Linked DNA regions of Homo sapiens: regions 1 and 3 are each linked to region 2. Evidence: promoter capture Hi-C in 16 types of primary human blood cells and fetal thymus (Javierre and others, 2016). All regions are on one chromosome and are shown on one strand. Each heading gives the region's core, a stretch centred on a gene start or on the middle of the fragment in contact. The rest is flanking DNA. Distances are from core to core; before and after follow the strand shown. Region 1 has its middle 34 kb from the start of PLAC8. Region 2 holds the start of HPSE (heparanase). Region 3 overlaps PLAC8 (placenta associated 8).

Region 1 (4,414 bases), core at 1,352-3,851, 250 kb before region 2:
GTATCAGAGCAAAAAAACAGGAAGGTAAAATCTTTTTAAAAAATTTAATTGATTTAATAGATAACTTTATTTAAAGGAATTATAGCAACAATGTGTGGATAGCTATAGCCTAGGGATAACTGAAGTGAATGACTGGAGTGTAAGTGATGGGAGGAAGGAATTGGGAATACCCTGTTATGAAGTATCCGCACAACCATGACACAGTATAGTGTTATTTGAAACTTGACTTAGATTAGTTGTAAATGTATATTGCAAACTCTAAATCACTATTAAAAAACTTTTTAAAGAAATATAATTGTTATGCTAAGAGAGGAGAGAAATAGAATGATAAAATGCTTATTTAAAACCAGAGTGTCAGCCAGGCGTGGTGGCTCACGCCTGTAATCCTAGCACTTTGGGAGGCTGAGGCAGGTGGATCACCTGAGGTCAGGAATTTGAGACCAGCCTAGCCAATATGGCGAAACCCTATCTCTACTAAAAATACAAAAATTAGCCAGGCATGGTGGCGGATGCCTGTAATCCCAGCTACTTGGGAGGCTGAGGCAGGAGAATTACTTGAATCCTGGGGGTGGAGGTTGCAGTGAGCTGAGATCACACCACTTCACTCCAGCCTGGGCAGCAGAGTGAAACTCCGTCTCAAAATAAATAAATAAAATAAAATAAAATAAAATCAGAGTGTCAGCAAGAGTATCAAAAAATACATGAGGCAGAAACTGATAAAACTGCAAGGAGAAATAGATGAATCCACTATTATAGTTGGAGATCTCAACTTCAATGCCTATCAGCAAAGGACAGATCCAGTAAGTAGAAAATCAGTAAGGACATTGTTGTACTCAACAGCACCACCAATCAACTGAATATAATTGACATCCATAGACTGCTTCGTCCTGCAACAACAGAGTACTCACTCTTGTCAGCTCACTTGGAGCGTTCACTGAGGTAGACCAACCTGGGCCATAAAACACACCTCAAAATGTAAAAGAATAGAAATTATACACTGTATGTTCTCAGACAACAATGGAATTTTTTTCTTTTTGAGACAGAGTTTTGCTCTTGTCACCCAGGCTGGAGTGCAGTGGTGTGATCTTGGCTCACTGCAACCTCTGCCTCCCGGGTTCAAGCAATTCTGCCTCATAATCATAATCCTGAAAGACACAATCCTGAATGCCAAACCCCAAATGTTGATGTCCCAAAAGATCAAAATCCTTAAAGTTCAAAATTTCTAAAGTCTAAATCCCTCATGTCTAAAATCCTGAAAATTACAATCCCAAAAGATTAAAATCCTCAATGTTGAAACCCTGAAAGCCAAATTCTGGGGAAGGGGATTAGTGTATTTTTTGGTTGTACACAGGATGGTTGCATCATGTTAGTTGTGTCATGTCAAGCAGAACCATAGCCTTTTTGTCTTTATTTGGAAATTAAGTGTGATTTAAGGGGATGCAAATGAGTGCCAAATTGACAAGGGGTGGACAGTGGACATAATTTTAGGTGTCAACTTGAATGGATTAAGGAATACCTAGAAACCTGGTAAAGCATTATTTTGGATGTGGCTGTGAGAGTGTTTTCAGAGATTAGAATGTGAGTCTGAGTGGACTAAGTGGGGGATGATCTGCCCTCATTGTTGGGAGGCACCAACTACTTGACCAGGGTCCCAAACAGAACAAATATAGAAGGCAAATTGGTCTCTCTCTGAGATCTGGGACAGACTTTTCTTCTCCTGTCTTGGACCCAGAACTCCAGGTTTGCCAGCCTTCGGACTCCGGAACTTACACCAGTGGCCCCCTGGATCCTGAGGCTTTTGGCCTCAGATGGATAGTTGCACCATCAGCTTTCCTGGTTCTGAGGCCTTTGGAGTTGGACTGAACCATGCTACCGGTATCCCAAGGTCTCCAGCTTTCGGATGGCCTCACCGTGGGTCTTTTCAGCCACCATAATTGCATGAGCCAAGTTCCCTAATAAATTTCCTCTCATATCCTATTGGTTCTGTCTCTCTAGAGAACCCTGACTAATACAGATTTGGTATTGGGGAAGCTGAACATCATTTCTTCTTACTGTATTGCTTACCACACAATGGAAGAGATCTGTGAAATTGTTCCCTTGCAAAAAGGCTGTGTTAAGTGTATGAGGCTACTTAACAGTGAAACAGTTTAAAAGTTAATTGTTATTCGTGCTGCAAACGTAGAAAATCACCTAATTGCAATGGCTGAGAAATAACCAGACTTTCAGATGGACAGCAGGTACTTACGAAATTTGTAGACCACAACCACTCCCCAAATACAAGTACTGTGAGTGTTTTGAAGATCATAGAAGTGAAAACACAGGCCAAAAATACAAGAAATCTCTTATGCCAAATTATTTAATCATGTATGGCTTCTGCCCCTTTACACATAATGCCAACTCGATATGCTATGTATTTCATCTTCGCATTATTTTCAATACTGAAGGTAAATTTAGATCTCTCTTTTTTTCTTAGTCTGGCTAAAAGCTTGTCAATTTTGCTTAACTTTTCAAAAAACCAACTTTTTGTTTCATTGATTTTTGTATTGTTTACTTCATTTTAATTTCATTTATTTCTGTTCTGATCTTTATTATTTCTTCTACTAATTTTGGATTTGGTTTGCTCTTGTTTTCCTAATTCTTTAAGATGCATCATTAGATTGTTTATTTAATGTAGGCACTATAAGTTTCCCTCTTTTTTGATGTAGGCACTATAACGATAAGCTTCCCTCTTAGTACTGCTTTTGCTGTATCCCATAGATTTTGGTATGTTGTGCTCCCATTAGCATTTGTTCCAAGAAATTTTTAAATTTCTTATTAAAATGATCCATCCTTGAGAATGATCCATATGCTGAGGAAAAGCATGTGTATTCCACAGCCATTGGATGAAATGTTCCGTAATTATCTACTGGATCCATTTGGTCTATTGTGCAGATTAAGTCTGATGTTTCTTTATTGATTTTTCTGCCTGGAAGATCCATCCAGTGCTGAAAGTGGGGTGTCGAAGTCTCCAGCTATTATTGTATTGGGGCCTAACTCTCTCTTTAGCTCTTTTTTTTGTTTTGTTTTGTTTTGAGATGGAGCCTGGCTCTGTTGCCCAGGGTGGAGTGCAGTGGTATGATCTTGGCTCACTGCAACCTCCGCCTCCCAGGTTCAAGCTATTCTCCTGCCTCAGCCTCCCAAGTAGCTGGGATTACAGACATGTGCCACCATACCCGGCTAATTTTGTATTTTTAGTAGAGATAGGGTTTCTCCATCTTGGTCAAGCTGGTCTCGAACTCCCAACCTCAGGTGATCCACCTGCCTTGGCCTCCCCAAAGTGCTGGGATTATAGGCATGAGCCACTGCGCCTGGCCTTTTTTATTTTTTTAAGGAGGGGGGGGGTCTCACTACATTGTCTAGGCTAGACTCAAACTCCTGGGCTCAAGTGATCCTTCTGCCTCGACCTCCTGAAATGCTGTGATTACAGGCATGAGCCACCATGACTGGCCCTGACTGTGTATTTTCAAATAGCCTGTCTTCAGGCTCACTAATTCTTTCTTCTGCTTGATCAATTCTGCTACTGAAAGCCTCTAATGCATTGTTCAGTATGCCAATTGCATTTTTAGCTCTGGAATCTCAGTTTGATTCTTTTTATTTTAATCTTTTTGTTAAATGTATCTGATATAATTTTGAATTCCTTCTCTGTGTTATCTTGAATTTCTTGAGTTTCCTCAACACAGCTATTTTGAATTCTCTGCCTGAAAGGTCACACATCTCTGTTTCTCCAGGATTGGTCCCTGGTGGCTCATTTAGTTCATTTGGGAGGTCATGTTTTCCTGGATGGTGTTGATGTTAGTAAATGTTCTTCAGTGTCTGGGCATTGAAGAGTGAAGTATTTATTGTAGTCTTCACTGTCTAGGCTTATTTGTACCCATCCCTCTTAGAAAGGCTTTCCAGATATTTGAAAGTACTTGGATATTGTGATGTAAGCTGTATCTGATTTAGAGAGCACCCCAATCCCAGTAACACTGTTTTCTTGCAGACTCATGGAGGTACTACCTTGATGGTCTTGGAAAAGATCCAGAAGAATTCTCTGCATTATCAGGCAGAGAGACTCCTGTTCCATTCTGTTACTTTCTTCCAAGCAAAAAGAGTCTCACTCTCCTTGTTCTGAGCCACATAAAGCCGGCGGTGGAGTGACACAAGCATCCCTGTGGCCACCACCACTATGACTGCATTGGGTCAGACCTGAAGCCAGCACAGCAGTGGGGCTTGCCAAGGCTGGCTGTAACCACTTCCTGGCTACTGCCTATGTTTGCTGAAGGCCCTGGGGCTCTACAATTAGCTGGTGGCAAAGCCGGCCAGGCCTGTGTCCTTCCCTTCAGAGCCGTGAGGTCCCCCAGGCCCCAGGTGAGTCCAGAGGTGCCTTTTGGGA
Region 2 (4,468 bases), core at 806-3,305:
GGGGGAACCCCCATCTGTCCTTTCTTGGGGAGAGGTTGGGGAATATGCTGGCTACAGCAATAGAAGAGGCCTCAGGTCCTCACATTTCAGTAAATGGACATCTACTTCATACCCATGTTCAGTAACCGCCCCCCCCCACCCCACACCCCAGCAAGCTAAGACTGGGGTCCTGTGATCTGGAGCCCTATGGTTCAGCATTTCTCTGGAACAATCTTCCTATCCCCCAACTAGTTGCTGCCTAGTATCAGCTTCCTATCCTTAAGGGGAAGGGCAGAAAGTAAGGATTCTTCCCCACCAGAAAATTGTAGTGCCAGAAGGAAAAGGAGAGGTTAACTATGATCCAAAGAAACAGAAAACCGGTGAATGGCTACCAAATGCTCACCATGTCCTAGAAAGAAACAATTCGTTTGAAACGTCAAACACTTACTATGGGTCAAACACTGAGAAGCTCTTACCATATCATCAAATCCTCGGGCAATAATCCTTGAGGCAAGCTTGAGAAATTCCATTCTACAGCTGAAGAAATCAAGGTTGGTGTGGCCAAGAGATATGGAAAAACCAAGTCACTCATCTTTGCCAGAGCTGAGAGTCAAGCCAGGATGGTCTGTCCATCTCTTAACCAGTACACTACCCATTAAATTAGCGCTGGCAACTATAGTGTGGGCTCAGGGAGGACAGCATCTAGGTATTTGACACAGAGGTGAGATAATGGTGATCTTTCCCTCTATCTGGGCTGGTCAAGATGTGGCCATCTCTGGAGGCTCCCAGGGCCTAAATAAGAGGCCTAGAAGACCTGGGATTGTCCCTGTAGCTCCCCATCTTGGAGTCAGCCTGCATTCATGGGGCAGGAGCCCTGAACCTGCATCAGGTTCCTTCTTTCTCAGGTAAGGAAAAAACTTAGAGCTGATAAGGCAGCACCACATTTTGCAGCCCCATTTTGGAGAGACATCTTTTTATTAGGACTTTGTAAGTCACTGCAGTAGTCTCCTAGGTCTCATTTATTGAATATTTAGATTTTTATTCCTGTTCTGTGACGCCCTTTTCATCTGCCTAAAAAAAAAAAAAGAAAAGAAAAAAGAAAAAGAAAAGAAAAGAAAGAGAAATCTTCCTAACACAGTCTTAAATACAGAAGGCTATGCACAATCTTACTTGTCCTACACTGCACAGCAAATCAAGCACTCACAGGCCTTCAGGTGCACCTGCCTGGTTTCCCTCCTCTTGGCTAGGGAAGTACTGGGGCAAGTGGGCAGTTTCTTTTTCAAATTTCCACTTATACCTGACCTTAGGTGGTGCCTATTCAACACTTACAGAATGAATGAAACAAAAAGGCTCATTTAGAGTGGGCGCTAAACAATGTGTACACATGGACTTAGTGGAATAGTAGACACTGGAGACTCCAAAAGGTGGGAGGGTGGGAGAGGGATGAGGGATGAGAAATTACCTATTAGATACAATGTACAACATTCGGGTGACAGTTACACTAAGAGCCCAGATGCCACCACAATGCAATATACCCATGGAACAGAACTGCACTTGTAACCCCTAAATCTATTTTTTAAATGATACCCCCCAAAAAGCAGTTTGGGGTCTGAGAGTAAGGGAGGGAGAGGGAGAATGAGAGGCGGGAAGTGGGGTGGGGAGAGACAGGCGGGGAGGTTCCGGTGTGAAGTTGTTTCCGCGCAAAAGAAGGAGAGCGGCTGGCGGGGCAGACATAGGTGTCAGGAGGACAGGAAAGGGGACAGGACCAGGAGGCTGGCGCTTACCCCAGGAGGATGAGGAACCGCGGGTCCGTGGCCAGGTTGGCGTCAATGGTGACGGACAGGAACGAGGGGCTCACCAGGTGCAGCGGCTCCTGGGTGAAGAAGTCCAGGTCCACGACGTCCTGTGCTTGCGCAGGTCGGGGCAGGGCGCCAGGGGAGAGGGGACCCAGCGGCCCCAGGAGCAGCAGCATCAGCGGCGGCGGCAGCGCAGGCTTCGAGCGCAGCAGCATCTTGGGCTCACCTGGCTGCTCCCCCCGCCAGCTGCCGCGCAGCGGAGAGTCGAGAGCTCTAGCACTTCCTCCCGCCGAGCCCCAGCGCCCTTTTCTCCTTTCCTCCGCCCCGTTACGCCTCCTCACCCCTCCCACTGCGCCCTCCATCCCTCCCACTCCTCTTCTGCATCCCTCCCACTGCTCCCAATCCAACCCCGCCCCGCCTGCCCGGCTCTCTCCTACTTCCTTGCTCGCTTTCCCCTCGGTGGCGGTCACGTTCACTTACGAAATCACCCACACCCACTTGAAGGGTGCGGAGATGGCCGGGATCCAAGCGCCCGGGAGGCCTGGGGAGGAGCGCCCGGGGAGGAGCGCCCGGGGAGCAGCGCTGGGCATCCCGGACCAGGCTTCCTGACGCACGTGTTCTGCGCGCTCTCGTGGGAACCCAGCGTTTCCGACTCCCAGATCCCATTCTGATGGCGCCGGGTATCCCTCTGACCCTCGAGTAAAACCTCCAATGGAGTATTCATCCCTTCCTCTCCCATCTAGCTTATAAACACTTGCTTGTCACTTGAGCCAGCCAAAATCTGATTGTCCTCTGGCCAGGCAGTTTCTCAGGTATTTTACTTTTGCTTGAAAAAATCTGGCCTCAGCATACGCTAAACTGCAGCTGGAAAGAGATCAACCACCCAAAATTCTTTATCAACTTCTCATTAAGACAATATTTAGCAATCTTAAAGGGTTAGTTGCTCCAATGTCTGGAACTCAGGACCTGAAGCCCCCATACAAAGTGTAGAGTACGGACTGCCCCTGAATTTGGAGCCTTTGCCAAATTTCTCCTCTGCGCATTTATCTTTCGCTGTTGGTCAGACTTTTCTTCAGCTTTTCCTTGATGCTTACACTGATGTATAATCATAGCAAGCATCGCACGCTTAGTGCCTACTGTATGCCTGATACAGGTGCTTTACTTGTGTTCTCTTCCCTTCTCACAACCCTGCCAAGTGCATACTGTCCTTGTTTTACACATGCGGACCCAAGCTCTGAGACAGTAACTGGGTGAAGTGTCAGAATCGGGATGTGAAGTGTCAGAATCGGGATGTGAATGCAGTTACAAAACCTCGAGCAGATGGCAGTGTGTTTCAGCTGAAATGTAACTTCCCTCAAGGAAGCTTTCTCTCAATCTCCAGGCAGCTCTCCATGACACACTCTCATAGCATCCTCAATTTGTTAGACACTCTCGTAGCATCCTCAATTTGTTAGACACTCTCGTAGCATCCTCAATTTGTTAGTATTGTGATGTTGCTCAACATTGGCTTCATCTACTAGATTATATGCTCCACCAAAACAGAGATTAAGTTTGTCTCACACGCTATGCTAGCCATAGCTCAGGCATGTGATCATGTTGGTGCTTAGTAAGAGTCTAATAAATATTGGTTGAGTAAGCAAATAACACCAAAACCCTTAGATTTTTCCACTTGAGATTGTACCACCAATAAGGCAACAAATAAAAATAGATTATTTTGAAATGCATATCTAATTTGCATAAATCAGGCCAGGCATGGTATGTGATGCCAGTGATGCCATCATGCCTGTGATGCCAGCATTTTGGGAGGCCAAGGTGGGAGGATTGCTTGAGCCGAGGAATTCAAGAACAGCCTGGGCAACATGATGAAACCCCATCTCTACAAAAAATACAAAAAATTAGCCAGGCGTGGTGGCCCGTGCCTGTGGTTCCAGCTACTGGGGAGGCTGAGGTGGGAGGTTTATTTGAGCCTGGGAGGTGGAGGTTGCAGTGACCCTTAATCACACCACTGCACTCCAGCCTGGGTGACAAAGTGAGACCCTCTCTTAAAATAATAATAATAATTATCATTATTTGCATAGATCTACCTATTCTTAAGCAACTTAAAAGCTAAGCTCATAGTGAGTTTTGCAACTAGAATCAGGTTCATATCCTACAATTACTGTATACATATGAAAAAAAATTCACACATAAACACCACACTACCAGAAGAGTGTAATAATATGGTAGCAGACGTGGAGTTGGAAAAACAGAAGTTTCTTTTCCACATTTGTCATGACATTAATCTTACACCCCACCCCATGCCCCTGACTCCTGTTGTGAGTCAACAGTCATACCAATTTCTTTCTTTTTTTTTTTTTTTGAGACGGAGTCTCGCTCTGTCGCCCAGGCTGGAGTGCAGTGGCACCATCTCGGCTCACTGCAAGCTCTGCCTCCTGGATTCACGCCATTCTCCTGCCTCAGCCTCCCGAGTAGCTGGGACTACAGGGGCCTGCCATCACCCCCGGCTAATTGTTTTGTATTTTTAGTAGAGATGGGATTTCACCATGTCTGTCAGGATGGTCTCAATCTCCTGACCTCGTGATCTGCCCGTCTCAGCCTCACAAAATGCTAGGATTGCAGGCATGAGCCACTGTGCCATGCCCAGTCATACCAATTTCTTTAACATGTTTGGGTGATTTGAAAAGTGGACCATT
Region 3 (4,562 bases), core at 1,370-3,869, 230 kb before region 2:
AGAACTCTGATGAAGACATACAAAGAGATTAATGTTATTTTCATGCCTTCTAAAAGAACACCTATTCTGCAGCCAATCAAGGAGTAATTTTGATTTTCAAGTCTTATTATTTAAAAAAAAAAACACTTTTGAAGGCTGTAGCTGCCATAGACAGTGATACCTCTGATGGATCTAGGGAAAATAAATTGAAAATCTTGTGGAAATGATTAATAATTTTAGGTTTCATTAAGAACATTCATGATTCCTGGCCAGGTGTGGTGGCTCACAGCTGTAATCTCAGCACTTAGGGAGGCCAAGGCAGGCGGATCACTTGAGGTCAGGAGTTTCGAGACCAGCCTGGCCAACATGGTAAAAACCCATCTCTACCAAAAAATAAAAATAAAAAATTAACTGGGTGTGATGCTGCACATCTATAGCCCCAGGTACTCAGGAGGCTGAGGTGGGAGAATTGCTTGAACCTGGGAGGGGAAGGCTGCAGTGAGCCGAGACGGCGCCACTGCACTCCAGCCTGGGTGACAGAGTGAGACCCTGTCTCAAAAAACAAAACAGAAAAACATTCATGATTCCTGGGGGGAGATCAAAATATCAACAGTAAAGGAGATTGGAAGAAGTTGATTCTATCCCTCATGGATGACTTTGAGGTGTTCAAGACTTCAGTAGAGAAAGTAACTACAGATGTGGTAGAAATAGCAAGAGAACTAGAATTAGAAATGGATCCTAAAGATGTCACTGAATTGCTGCAATCTCATGATAAAACTTGAGGAGCTACTTCTTATGGATGAGCAAAGAAAGCTGTTTCTTGGCCGGGCGCGGTGGCTCACGCCTGTAATCCCAACACCTTGGGAGGCCGAGGCGGGCGGATCATGAGGTCAGGAGATTGAGACAATACTGGCTAACACGGTGAAACCCCGTCTCTACTAAAAATACAAAAAATTAGCCGGGCGTAGTGGCGGGCACCTGTAATCCCAGCTACTCAGGAGGCCGAGGCAGGAGAATGGCGTGAATCTGGGAGGCGGAGCTTGCAGTGAGCCGAGATGGCGCCACTGCACTCCAGCCTGGGTGACAGAGCAAGACTCCCTTTAAAAAAAAAAAAAAGAAAGCTATTTCTTGAGGCTGGGCGCGGTGGCTTCTGCCTGTAATCCCAGCACTGTGGGAGGCCGAGGCGGGCGGATCACAAGGTCAAGAGATCAAGACCATCCTGGCCAACATGGTGAAACCCTGTCTCTACTAAAAATACAAAAATTAGCTGGGCACGGTGGCGGGTACCTGTAATCTCAGCTACTCGGGAGGATGAGGCAGGAGAATCGCTTGAACCTGGGAGGCGGAGGTTGCAGTGAGCCGAGATCTCACCACTGCACTCCAGCCTGGCAACAGAGTGAGACTCCATCTCAACAAAGAAAGAAAGAAAGAAAGAAAGTGGTTTCTTGAGATGGAATCAACTCCTGGTGAAGATGCTGTGACCATGGTTGAAATAACAACAAAGGATTGAGAATATTCCATAAGCTTAGTTGATAAAGCCGTAACAGGGTTTGAGAGGACTGAATCCAATTTTGAAAGAAGTTCTATTGTAGGTAAAATGCTACCAAATAGCATAGAAATCTTTCCTTTCATGAAAGGAATGGTCAATCAATGAGGCAGACTTCATTGTTGCCTTATTTGTTTTTTGTTTTTGTTTTGTTTTGTTTGAGATGGAGTCTTGCTCTGTTGTCCAGGCTGGAGTGCTGAGGCGCAATCTGGGCTCACTGCAGCCTCCCTCCTGGGTTCAAGCAATTCTCCTGCCTCAGCCTCCCAAGTAGCTGGGATTACAGGCACCTGCCACCACGCCTGGCTAATTTCTATATTTTTAGTAGACAGGGGTTTCACCATGTTGGCCAGGCTGGTCTTTAACTCCTGACCTCAAGTGATCAGCCCTCCTGGGCCTCCCGAAGTGCTGGGATTATAGGTGTGAGCCACCACGCCCAGACCATTGTTGCCTTACTTGAAGAAATTGCCACAGTCACCCCAACCTTCAGTATCCAGCACCCTGATCAATCAGCAGCCACCAACACTGAGGCAAGACCCTCCACAGGCAAAAACATTATGAATTGCTGAAGATTCAGATAGATTATTATTAGTATTTTTTAGCCATAAAGTATTTTAAAATTAAGGTACATATGTTGTTTTTTGAGACATAATGTTATTGCATACTTAACAGACTATAGTGTAGTATAAGCATACCTTTTATGTGCACTGGGAAACCAAAAAATTCATGTGACTTGCTTTATTGCAATATTTGCTTTATTGTGGTGGTCTAGAACTAAACCTGTATATCTGAGGTTTGCCTGTATATATATATATGTGTGTATACACACATCCACTCCCAATCTTATTGGTTCTGTTTCTAATGCACTTAGGAGGACTCTAAGTAATATAATCTCTCACCTACACAAAGTGGAGTTGGTGTAATGGAAAGTGTATGAATGGACAGTTAGAATTGAGTATCGACTCTTTCTCTACTATTATCTTTGAGGGAATTACTCCACCTCTTAAAACTTTAAAGTTCTCTTTGGCAAAATGTTGTGGACCTACCCACTTTACAGAGATGATGTGAGGATTAAGTGAGATAATACATGTAATGCATCCACGCCACAGTAGATCCTAAATAAGCCTCTTCCATGGTATGACATCCATTGCAAATATGAGTTATCAATTTTCTCAGGTTTTCAGCAGAAACCTAGAAGGAGGCCACATAACCAGAAGATCTGTTGCTACAACTGAATGCAAGATTGCACATGCTAGGGAACTCTTATCAATCAATTTCAGAAGATGTATACATCAAATGATCTCCATGTTTATAATAATTATTTTGAATGGGGTGCATATTTGAGTGAGATGGTATGGTAAGAGACTCACAGGGATGCCATATCGGGTCCTGTAGAGAGTCCTCATTGCGACGCTTGTTCCACACAGACAGCATTCATTCATATCAGCTGCAACTTGACACCCAAGGCACGGGAAACAAAATGTGCCACAGAGACCTAGACACATGAAACCAGGGGTACATATTACTCCACTCTGCCCCTGCCACAGCTGAAAGTTTAGCTTGCTTTCACAAATGGCAGTCCGAGTCATGGGGCCTTGGCCGCAAAGCCTGCTGCTAAGTCCATCTTCAATGTTTCTATTCAGCTTTGCATCAATTTCTCGCTCCACCCGCAAATCATTTCAGGAATGACCACGCCTTTGCAAAGTATATCATTCTTGTCATAGTTCTGCCTTCATTCATTTGTTCATTGATGCAGTAAAACTTATTCATTTTCCAGACATTATCCTCAGTACTGACAGTGCCCCTGGCTCAAGTCTAGTAGTGAAGGCAGATCATAGGGAAAGTTCTCCAACAGAAACGTGTTTGAAATACCAACAGGTCACCCAGAAAAATGGGGCCTACAAGGCCCTGAGTAGGAAATGCTCAGGAAATATTGAAGGATGATTAGATGTTTTAAAGGTGGACAAAAAGGAAAAGAGCCTCTTCGAGGTAATCTGGCATATCCTGGCAAAGGCTAGTGTTCATTCAATATGGCTGGAGCCCTGGGATGGGATGAGGATTTAACTGGGGGTTGAGGCAGGTTGGGGACCAGATGATGAAAAACTGTAAGTGTTAAGAGTGTGCCATGAGAGTTATGAGGAACCACTGAAACATTTTAAGAGGGGAGAATAATTTGATCAGATCTACATTTAAGAAAATTTGCTATTAAGCAATTAAGCTTTGATTGGAACTTGTGTATTCATTTAATTGGGTAATAATAATACTAGGGGTGAGAGGGTTAAAATGTTCATCTTTAGAGAGTTTCACCAATGCAGTCTAATTCTCACTTTGATTTGCAGATGTTGAACTGGTGCCCTGAGAAGCTTAAGTCGTCACCCCAGACAATGAGAGTGAAAAAACCAACACAATTGTTTCATTCCCTAGGTAATTTTCCCTTGCTATGCTACTGAGTGTGTAATTCTTTTTTTATTTTTATTTTATTTTATTTACTTATTTATTTATTTATTTTTGAGATGCAGCCTCGAGTGCAATGGTGCGATCTTAGCTCACTGCAACCTCTACCTCTCAGGTTCAAGCAATTCTTCTGCCTCAGCCTCCCAAGTAGCTGGGACTACAGGCACCCACCACCATGCCCGGTTAATTTTTGTATTTTTTAGTAGAGATGGGGTTTCACCATCTTGGCCAGGCTGGTCTTGAACTCCTGACCTTGTGATCTGCCCGCCTTGGCCTCCCAAAGTGCTGGGATTACAGGTGTGAGCCACCACGCCCAGCCTGATTGTAATTCTTATCACATTCAAAGTTCAATTTCAGGCCAGGTATGGTGGCTTATGCCTGTAATCCTAGCACTTTGGAAGGCCGAGGTGGGCAGATCACTTGATGTCAGGAGTTTGAGACCGGCCTGCCCAACACGATGAAACCCCATCTCTACTAAAAATACAAAAATTGGCTGGGTGTGGTTGTGCGTGCCTGTAACCCCAGCTACTCGGAGGCCAAGGTAGGAGAATCACTTGAACCAGGGAGACAGACAATTGCAGTGAGC

Evidence for each region. The method cuts DNA at HindIII sites, captures the fragments that hold promoters and counts their contacts. A CHiCAGO score of 5 or more calls a contact.
Region 1: a fragment that was not itself captured here is called in contact with the fragment with the promoter of HPSE in region 2 in 1 of 17 cell types (total CD8 T cells); the score reaches 5.3 in total CD8 T cells.
Region 3: a contact is called between a fragment that was not itself captured here and the fragment with the promoter of HPSE in region 2, in 2 of 17 cell types (neutrophils and monocytes). The highest score is 5.7, in neutrophils.

What each region holds. Positions count from the first base shown.
Region 1 is chr4:83,078,709-83,083,122 of GRCh38, forward strand. No RefSeq gene overlaps it. Among named protein-coding and RNA genes, the nearest start is that of PLAC8, 34 kb to the right of the region's middle. The HindIII fragment of the contact is 236 bases long and covers 2,484-2,719 here.
Region 2 is chr4:83,332,793-83,337,260 of GRCh38, forward strand. It overlaps HPSE (heparanase), which reads right to left and starts at 2,056. Exons shown (of 12, transcript NM_001098540.3): 1 at 1,764-2,056. The coding sequence starts at 1,990. The HindIII fragment of the contact is 2,644 bases long and covers 493-3,136 here.
Region 3 is chr4:83,102,004-83,106,565 of GRCh38, forward strand. It overlaps PLAC8 (placenta associated 8), which reads right to left. Exons shown (of 5, transcript NM_016619.3): 3 at 2,893-3,017. Among named protein-coding and RNA genes, the nearest start is that of PLAC8, 10 kb to the right of the region's middle. The HindIII fragment of the contact is 2,237 bases long and covers 1,502-3,738 here.